Regions from separate parts of the Homo sapiens genome. Here region 1 is linked to region 2. Evidence: promoter capture Hi-C in 16 types of primary human blood cells and fetal thymus (Javierre and others, 2016). All regions are on one chromosome and are shown on one strand. Each heading gives the region's core, a stretch centred on a gene start or on the middle of the fragment in contact. The rest is flanking DNA. Distances are from core to core; before and after follow the strand shown.

Region 1 (3,193 bases), core at 593-3,092, 510 kb after region 2:
GGGACATGAATACCAGATCTGGACTTTTCAAATGTTCCATCTGGACATTTTCTCCAGTCCCCGTTCTTGAGCTCTCTTGCCCCAAACAGCAATGTTTGGCAAGCTTTGTAATGAAGACGATGGTGTCGCTCATTTCATCTGTCTAGAACACTCTAAAAACAAAACTCTTAACTGCAGTGTGTTTATTACCCATTTCCAGTTCTACTTGCATAATTAAAATATACAGCAAAGAAAACATTTTTGTAATGTCAGTGATGACCCTTGAACTTTTGCTTTGCTCCATCAGTGTTGTTTGATTTACAAGGAAATGACAGTTTATTTCTGTCTTAAGCTTGTAATTTTCACCCGAGTCCAGCAGTGACCTCAAAGGCACAGGCCAACTTCCTGGGATCAGGGGTGGATCAGCAATTCAGACAAACAGGCTTCATTTCCAACTAAAAACTCAGGAAGCTTCGATGAACCTAAACTTCTCCCAGTCTGGAAGTTCAGAAGCCCAGTGGTTCACTCTAAATTTTAAACTGATTTTGGAATAAGTCAGCTTCACCTGAGCCCAAAGATAACATACCACCTAAAATAGGTGCAGATTTGAGGAATAAGTCTCCTCCTTTCACTAGAACAATTCTCATTCCTTTCATTCTCTTGTTTCCAGTTTTTTCCTGGTTGCTCCTAGCCAGTAGAAGTGGCTTATCAACAGACCTCTACTTCTGTTGAACTTCATTACGTAGCAAATAGAGAAAAACCTGCTCTGAGAAACCCATCTTCTCATTCTGTGACTCTCTGATCCTAAACAAGAAGCTTCATTAGCAGCTGGAAGCCCTTGTCTCCTATGGATTAGAGAGACTCCCATGGCTAATAACTAACATGCATGGGATTTCTTGGCTGACAGTGCTCAGTGTTAACCATTTTACCTGGAGCACACTCTTTTCCCTCACCACTCCCCACACTCAGTCCTTTACCAGATGATTTACTAAATCAAATTCACAACTTGTAACATGACTCCTAAAGTTCCTGATAATCTGGAGCTGCCCCTGAGTGCGCCCCCCAACAACCCTGGACTACACCACCACATTCCCCCTAGACTCATGGGATTCCCATGTGCTGTGCCCTCTGCCAGGAATGCTCTTCCTCCTGTTTCTATACCTGGATAAAACCCACTCATGAATCAAGTATCAGCTGAGAGTCCCCTTTTTAAGGGTAGCATTTCTTAAACACTCCTTGCCCCTGCAAACATAGCTTTTTATCCACTTCAGTAGTTCTTTATCTCTTTCATAGCACTTCTCATGACTCATCATTATATTTTTGTGTCATTATTAGATAAATAACAGTCTCCCTCTGTGGCTGTCTCCCAATACCCACTATCCTCTTCTTTAATGAAAGAATCCCAACTTTTATCTGGGCACATTGTTACCCACCTAAAAAGTCCACATTCTGGCCGGGCGCGGTGGCTCAAGCCTGTAATCCCAGCAGTTTGGGAGGCTGAGAGGGGCAGATGACGAGGTCAAGAGATCGAGACCATCCTGGCCAACATGGTAAAACCCTGTCTCTACTAAAAATGCAAAAATTAGCTGGGCGGGGTGGCATGTGCCTGTAGTCCCAGCTACTCGGGAGGCTGAGGCCGAAGAATCGCTTGAATCTGGGAGGCAGAGGTTGCAGTAAGCCAAGATCACGTCACTGCACTCCAGCCTGGTGACAGAGCGAGACTCTGTCTCAAAAAAAAAAAAAAAAAAAAAAGTCCACATCCATATTCCTCACCGTCTCTTATGGCTAGATGTGACCAGGAAATGAAATGCTGGTCAATAACATGTGTCCTTCCTTGTCATTTTTTCTGCTGACTGGAATGGAGATAATGAGGAGGGCTGCAGCTTGGGTAGCCATGTTGGATCATGAGGTGGAAGTCATAGGCTTAGAAGGTAGCAATGAAAAGAAAGGAGCCTGGGTTCCTGGGGATACCAAAGAGCTTCCACACCAGGCTTGGAGTGTTACATTTTAGTCTCCTCTTCATGTGAGAGAAATAAACTTTCATCTTGTTTAAGCTACTTCTGTTGTCATTAACCTATCTTAAATGAATAGTTTCAGAAGCGATGACTGCACCACCATTTTGCAGGAGAGACAAATAGCTGAGCACATCCTACGTCTTCTCCAGTGTGAGCCGGGGAGGAGACAGGCGCACGGGCAAGGTTCTAGGTCATCAGTTTTTGTTCTTCCTCATGCCATGGATTTGGGATCTATACAACATCTTTTTAGTCTCACAAGAAATCTTTTGGCAAAGATTTCTTTTCTCTCCTTGAATTTTTTTTTTTTTTTTTTTTTTTTTTTTTTTTTTTTGAGATAGAGTCTCACTCTGTAGCCCACGCTGGAGTGCAGAGGTGCAATCTTGGCTCATTGCAACCTCCGACTCCCCAGTTAAAGCGGTTTTCCTGCCTCAGCTTCCCGAGTAGCTGAGATTACAGGTGTGCCACCACGCCCAGCTAATTTTTGTGTTTTTAGTAGAGACGGGGTTTCACCATGTTGGCCAGGCTGGTCTCAATCTCCTGACCTCGTGCTCCACCCGCCTCAGCCTCCCAAAGGGCTGGGATTACAGGCTGAGCCACTGCCGGCGACCTTTGCTTCTTAGCACAGCCTGCCTGGCAATGAGGGCACCAAAATCATAGAATCAATTTTTCAGAGTTCATGCGTTAAAATTCTTAGGTGATATTACATTTGAAGATGCTGTAAATATGGCTTCATTACTTTAACTTGCAAAGAGAACAAAGAGAACTTGCAAAAAAAATACCTCAGGCGAATGTGCCTTGCAGAGCATGTGCCTTAAAAACGTCCTAGACAAAGGTGTGTAAACAGTAACTGGCCTTATCCAATGCAGGATTCACAGCGGCTAGGAAATGAAGCTTTAAGGTCAATCGAAAGGAAACAGGAGATAGTGCCTTTACAGGTCATCACCTACAAGAAGAAACCCATAGAATACTACTTTTTTTTTTTTTTTTTAGAAAAAAATAATTTATGACACCAATAAAAATAGGACTTGTGTTTTAGAAAATTACATCATGGGTTGGTAAACTGTGATCTCAGTTTTGTAAATAAAGCTTTATTGAAGCACAGCCACACCCATAACCTTCCTGATTCTGTGTGTCTGGCTGCTTTGGGACTTGAACTCCAGCAGTTGCAACAGAGACCCTATTGAGTCCGCAGTTTCTTT
Region 2 (3,134 bases), core at 144-2,643:
GATGGGAGAATATGCATTTGAGGGCAAAGGGAAGGTGGAATAAGAAACTGAACATTGGAAGCCTTGAGGCGGGGACCCACGAGATTCAGTGTTGTCTCTCTCATTGGGATCATTCAGCCAACAGGGCTAGTGAGTTCATTCGGGAGGCTTCGAGGCAATGTGGGTGCTGGCTGACAAGGCTCATATAATATCCCTATGAAGTCATTCACGGAAAGCGGTCTGACACTATCTCGCCCCTCATCCTCCCTCTTCTTCCCCAAAATCCAGTGTTGCAGAGGCAGCCCAGTGGTTCTAGAGAGCCCCACCCCCTCCACTGCCCTGGCCCCCTGGCCCCCCAGCAGCGAAGACATTCCCTGGAGGCTCTGAGACAGGCTGGGGCCTGGCCTGGGAGTGGGCACCTCTGAGGAGCTGCTGCAGGGCCCCTGGACAGCATGGAGAAATGGGCAGCCTGTGTCTTCCGGTCCCCAGGTGCCTTGATGTCTCCACCCCTCTCCTTTCACTTGGGTCCCTTGTCTCAAACCTGCTGCAGTCAGGATCTGCTCCAGGCCTGCCAGGCCTGATTGCGGTCAATTCTACTTCAGAGAACATTTCAGTCCATGGGGTTGCCTCTTCCTTCATTTGTAAAATGTGTACCTTGTAATTTTGAAACAAAAAGTTCTTTTAGGCTCCTGAAATGGCAGAGAAGACCTTTTCAGGGGTCTCTAGGCTGGGAGGGGGAAGGGGCCTCTCAAGGCTCTTGTAATTCCAATACACAGGAGTGGCCATGCACTGTGTCCACGGAGCTATTTCATAGCCTAGCTGCAGGCTGCGTAAGCGGTTGCTGTTGAATCAAAGAGGTGTCCTTCTCTCTACAGAGTCTTGTTAGGTTTCCCCATAGTTCCCCAATTCCAACTCATGGCCAGTCCACTTTTGCCTGTCCCACAGAATGAAGAGTATCATGGGAACCTCAGTGTTGGTCCCACAGCTGTAAGCCAATTCCCCCAATTTTTCACTGCCCTCATTTTCCAGGAAGACATTAGCTTTAGGGGGAAGAAATCAGAGGCCCCAGAGCAGCCTGTCATTTGTCTAGGTTGGCTCCTGTGGGTTCCAGGCAGACTCTAATGTGGCCAGAGTGACCTCCAATGAGTGCCAGCAATTTTCAAGGCCGTCTGAGAAGATGAGGCTCTTTCCCAGCTTCCTCCCGCGCTCCCTTCCCTGTTTCCATCCCGCCCCCTTGCACTGCTACTTAGTTCCTTGTCGGGCTTACCTTTGGCCTTCTCTTGTAGATGACACAGCTAATTCTGAAACATATGGAATCAAGGTAAGGCCTTCTTCAAAAAAGTGTGGAGCAACATGGCCTCCCTGCCCTGGCGGTCAGCTAACTCAGGGACTGGGGACACAGAGTCCATCTGGCTGTGCTTTAACAAACGATAACAGCTATGATGAAAGCACACGGTGATTATGGGAAAAAAAACATAACGTTCTGGGCCAGGCCAGCTCTGCAGACAGACAAGCTCATGTGAAGGTCAAACGTAACACACATTGGAGGGAGGAAGAGAACGGCAGTTTCAGCACACACTGGATTAAAGAAAAATTAACTAATGTTGAGTGTAAAAGAAAACTTCAGAAGTTGGCCCGAGATCAAGACCATCTCTTTGTTAGGAATTTCAGCTTTTGTCAGAGAGAATACTCCAATTTATTGTGAAAATCACTGCCCTGTCAGCTCCTCCACTTATTCCATATTTATGTCACCCTATTCCAATGCCCATTTGGGAGTTGGTTTTTCTCAGGTGTGTTCATTAAAAGCAAATGCTTGATAGCTTATCTTCCCTAGAGGAAGAAGGGGCTTGGCCTTGGATTCTAATTTGCAGTTTCTTGTCCCCTGCCCCTCCATTGTATCCGTCTAATTGGGAAGGATTAAGAATATTAAATTTCAAAAGGACAAGTAAGGCTCCTGGAGACTTGCATAGGGTATCTGTGTGAGCAGGTCCTGTACTGTGAAATTCTATCCAAGACAATATTCCACCATGTGACATCTGTCCAGCTGTGGGTCCTGAGTCCAAAGGGACCGGCAGCTCATGTGGTCACATTTAAGGGAGAAGGATTCTCTCCCCTTAAATCCTGAGCTGAGCTGGTTATCAGTATTTTGGTGGAGAGACCTCAGTTGTAGCACAGCCTGTTTCCAAGAGCAAGCCCCTCACATTATATGATGTCACATGACTGCCAGGTGGCATCACTGTGCGGCGGAAATCCAGACATCTCTGTGTGGCGCCCTCCAGGGGAAGGTAGGGGAAGTTCACTTACCATTCCTAGAAGCAGAGCCCCTAGCACTTGCGGAAGCCTAGAAAGGGTCGAGTCCGGCAGTGTTCACACGGGACCCTTTGTTTTCTTTGTACTCAAGGTCAGGTAGGGCAACAAAGCCATGGGAACTTTGCTTCTTTGCCTTTCAGGCAGAAAGGTCTCATCCTGAACATTTCTTCTGGGATAGCCCTGTTTCCTTGGCCTCTCTACTCCATGTACTCAGCTTCCAAGGTGAGTGATGTCATGACTTCCAAGTCTCTTCCTTCTTCCTCTTATTTCTCCCAGTTGGCAATTTCCTTTGATCATCTGGCAAGTTGATGGAAAGGTTTACCTGGAGATGCTCTCTTATGTGCAGGGCTGAGCTACTCACTGGGAAGTCCAAGAGAAAATTAGAATAAAGCACCTGCTCTGGGCACACGAAGCCCTGCGGTGCACAACTTGGCCAGCCTCCGGGGATGCCTGCCCCACTCACCTCCTCTGGGAGCCCTTGCCATCTTCCTGCTGACAAGTGACACTGTAGCTTCCTTCCAGACTGGGAGATCTAGCCTGGTGTCCCCATGCCCTAGTCATAAAAACAGCCTGAGGAGGAGGGGGCGCTGTACAAGGGAGGTTAATCTATGCAGGGGCCCTAGGGATGGATTTATCCCAAAACAGATTTTCCTGCTGAGTGGGAGGTCCTCTTCCCAGACCGGGGGATGAAGTGCTAACTCCCATCAAGGCAAGCTGGTTCATTTTTTCCCTTACCCTCTTTCTGCCCCACTCTCCAGCTTTATTAAGGCGTACTTGACAAATAAAAATTGTGTCTATTTATAGTATGCAAGGTGATATTTTAATATATGTATATGTTGTGAAAC

What was found. The method cuts DNA at HindIII sites, captures the fragments that hold promoters and counts their contacts. A CHiCAGO score of 5 or more calls a contact.
Region 1: a contact is called between a fragment that was not itself captured here and the fragment with the promoter of HSD17B3-AS1 in region 2, in 2 of 17 cell types (M0 macrophages and M2 macrophages). The highest score is 6.3, in M0 macrophages.

The regions. Positions count from the first base shown.
Region 1 is chr9:95,730,163-95,733,355 of GRCh38, reverse strand. No RefSeq gene overlaps it. Among named protein-coding and RNA genes, the nearest start is that of ERCC6L2, 140 kb to the left of the region's middle. The HindIII fragment of the contact is 2,090 bases long and covers 798-2,887 here.
Region 2 is chr9:96,244,722-96,247,855 of GRCh38, reverse strand. It overlaps HSD17B3-AS1 (HSD17B3 antisense RNA 1), which reads right to left and starts at 1,393. Exons shown (of 3, transcript NR_146524.1): 1 at 1,247-1,393; 2 at 521-633. HSD17B3 (hydroxysteroid 17-beta dehydrogenase 3) reads left to right here. Exons shown (of 11, transcript NM_000197.2): 7 at 1,266-1,300; 8 at 2,430-2,511. SLC35D2-HSD17B3 (SLC35D2-HSD17B3 readthrough) reads left to right here. Exons shown (of 26, transcript NR_182427.1): 22 at 1,266-1,300; 23 at 2,430-2,511. The HindIII fragment of the contact is 9,340 bases long and covers 1-3,134 here.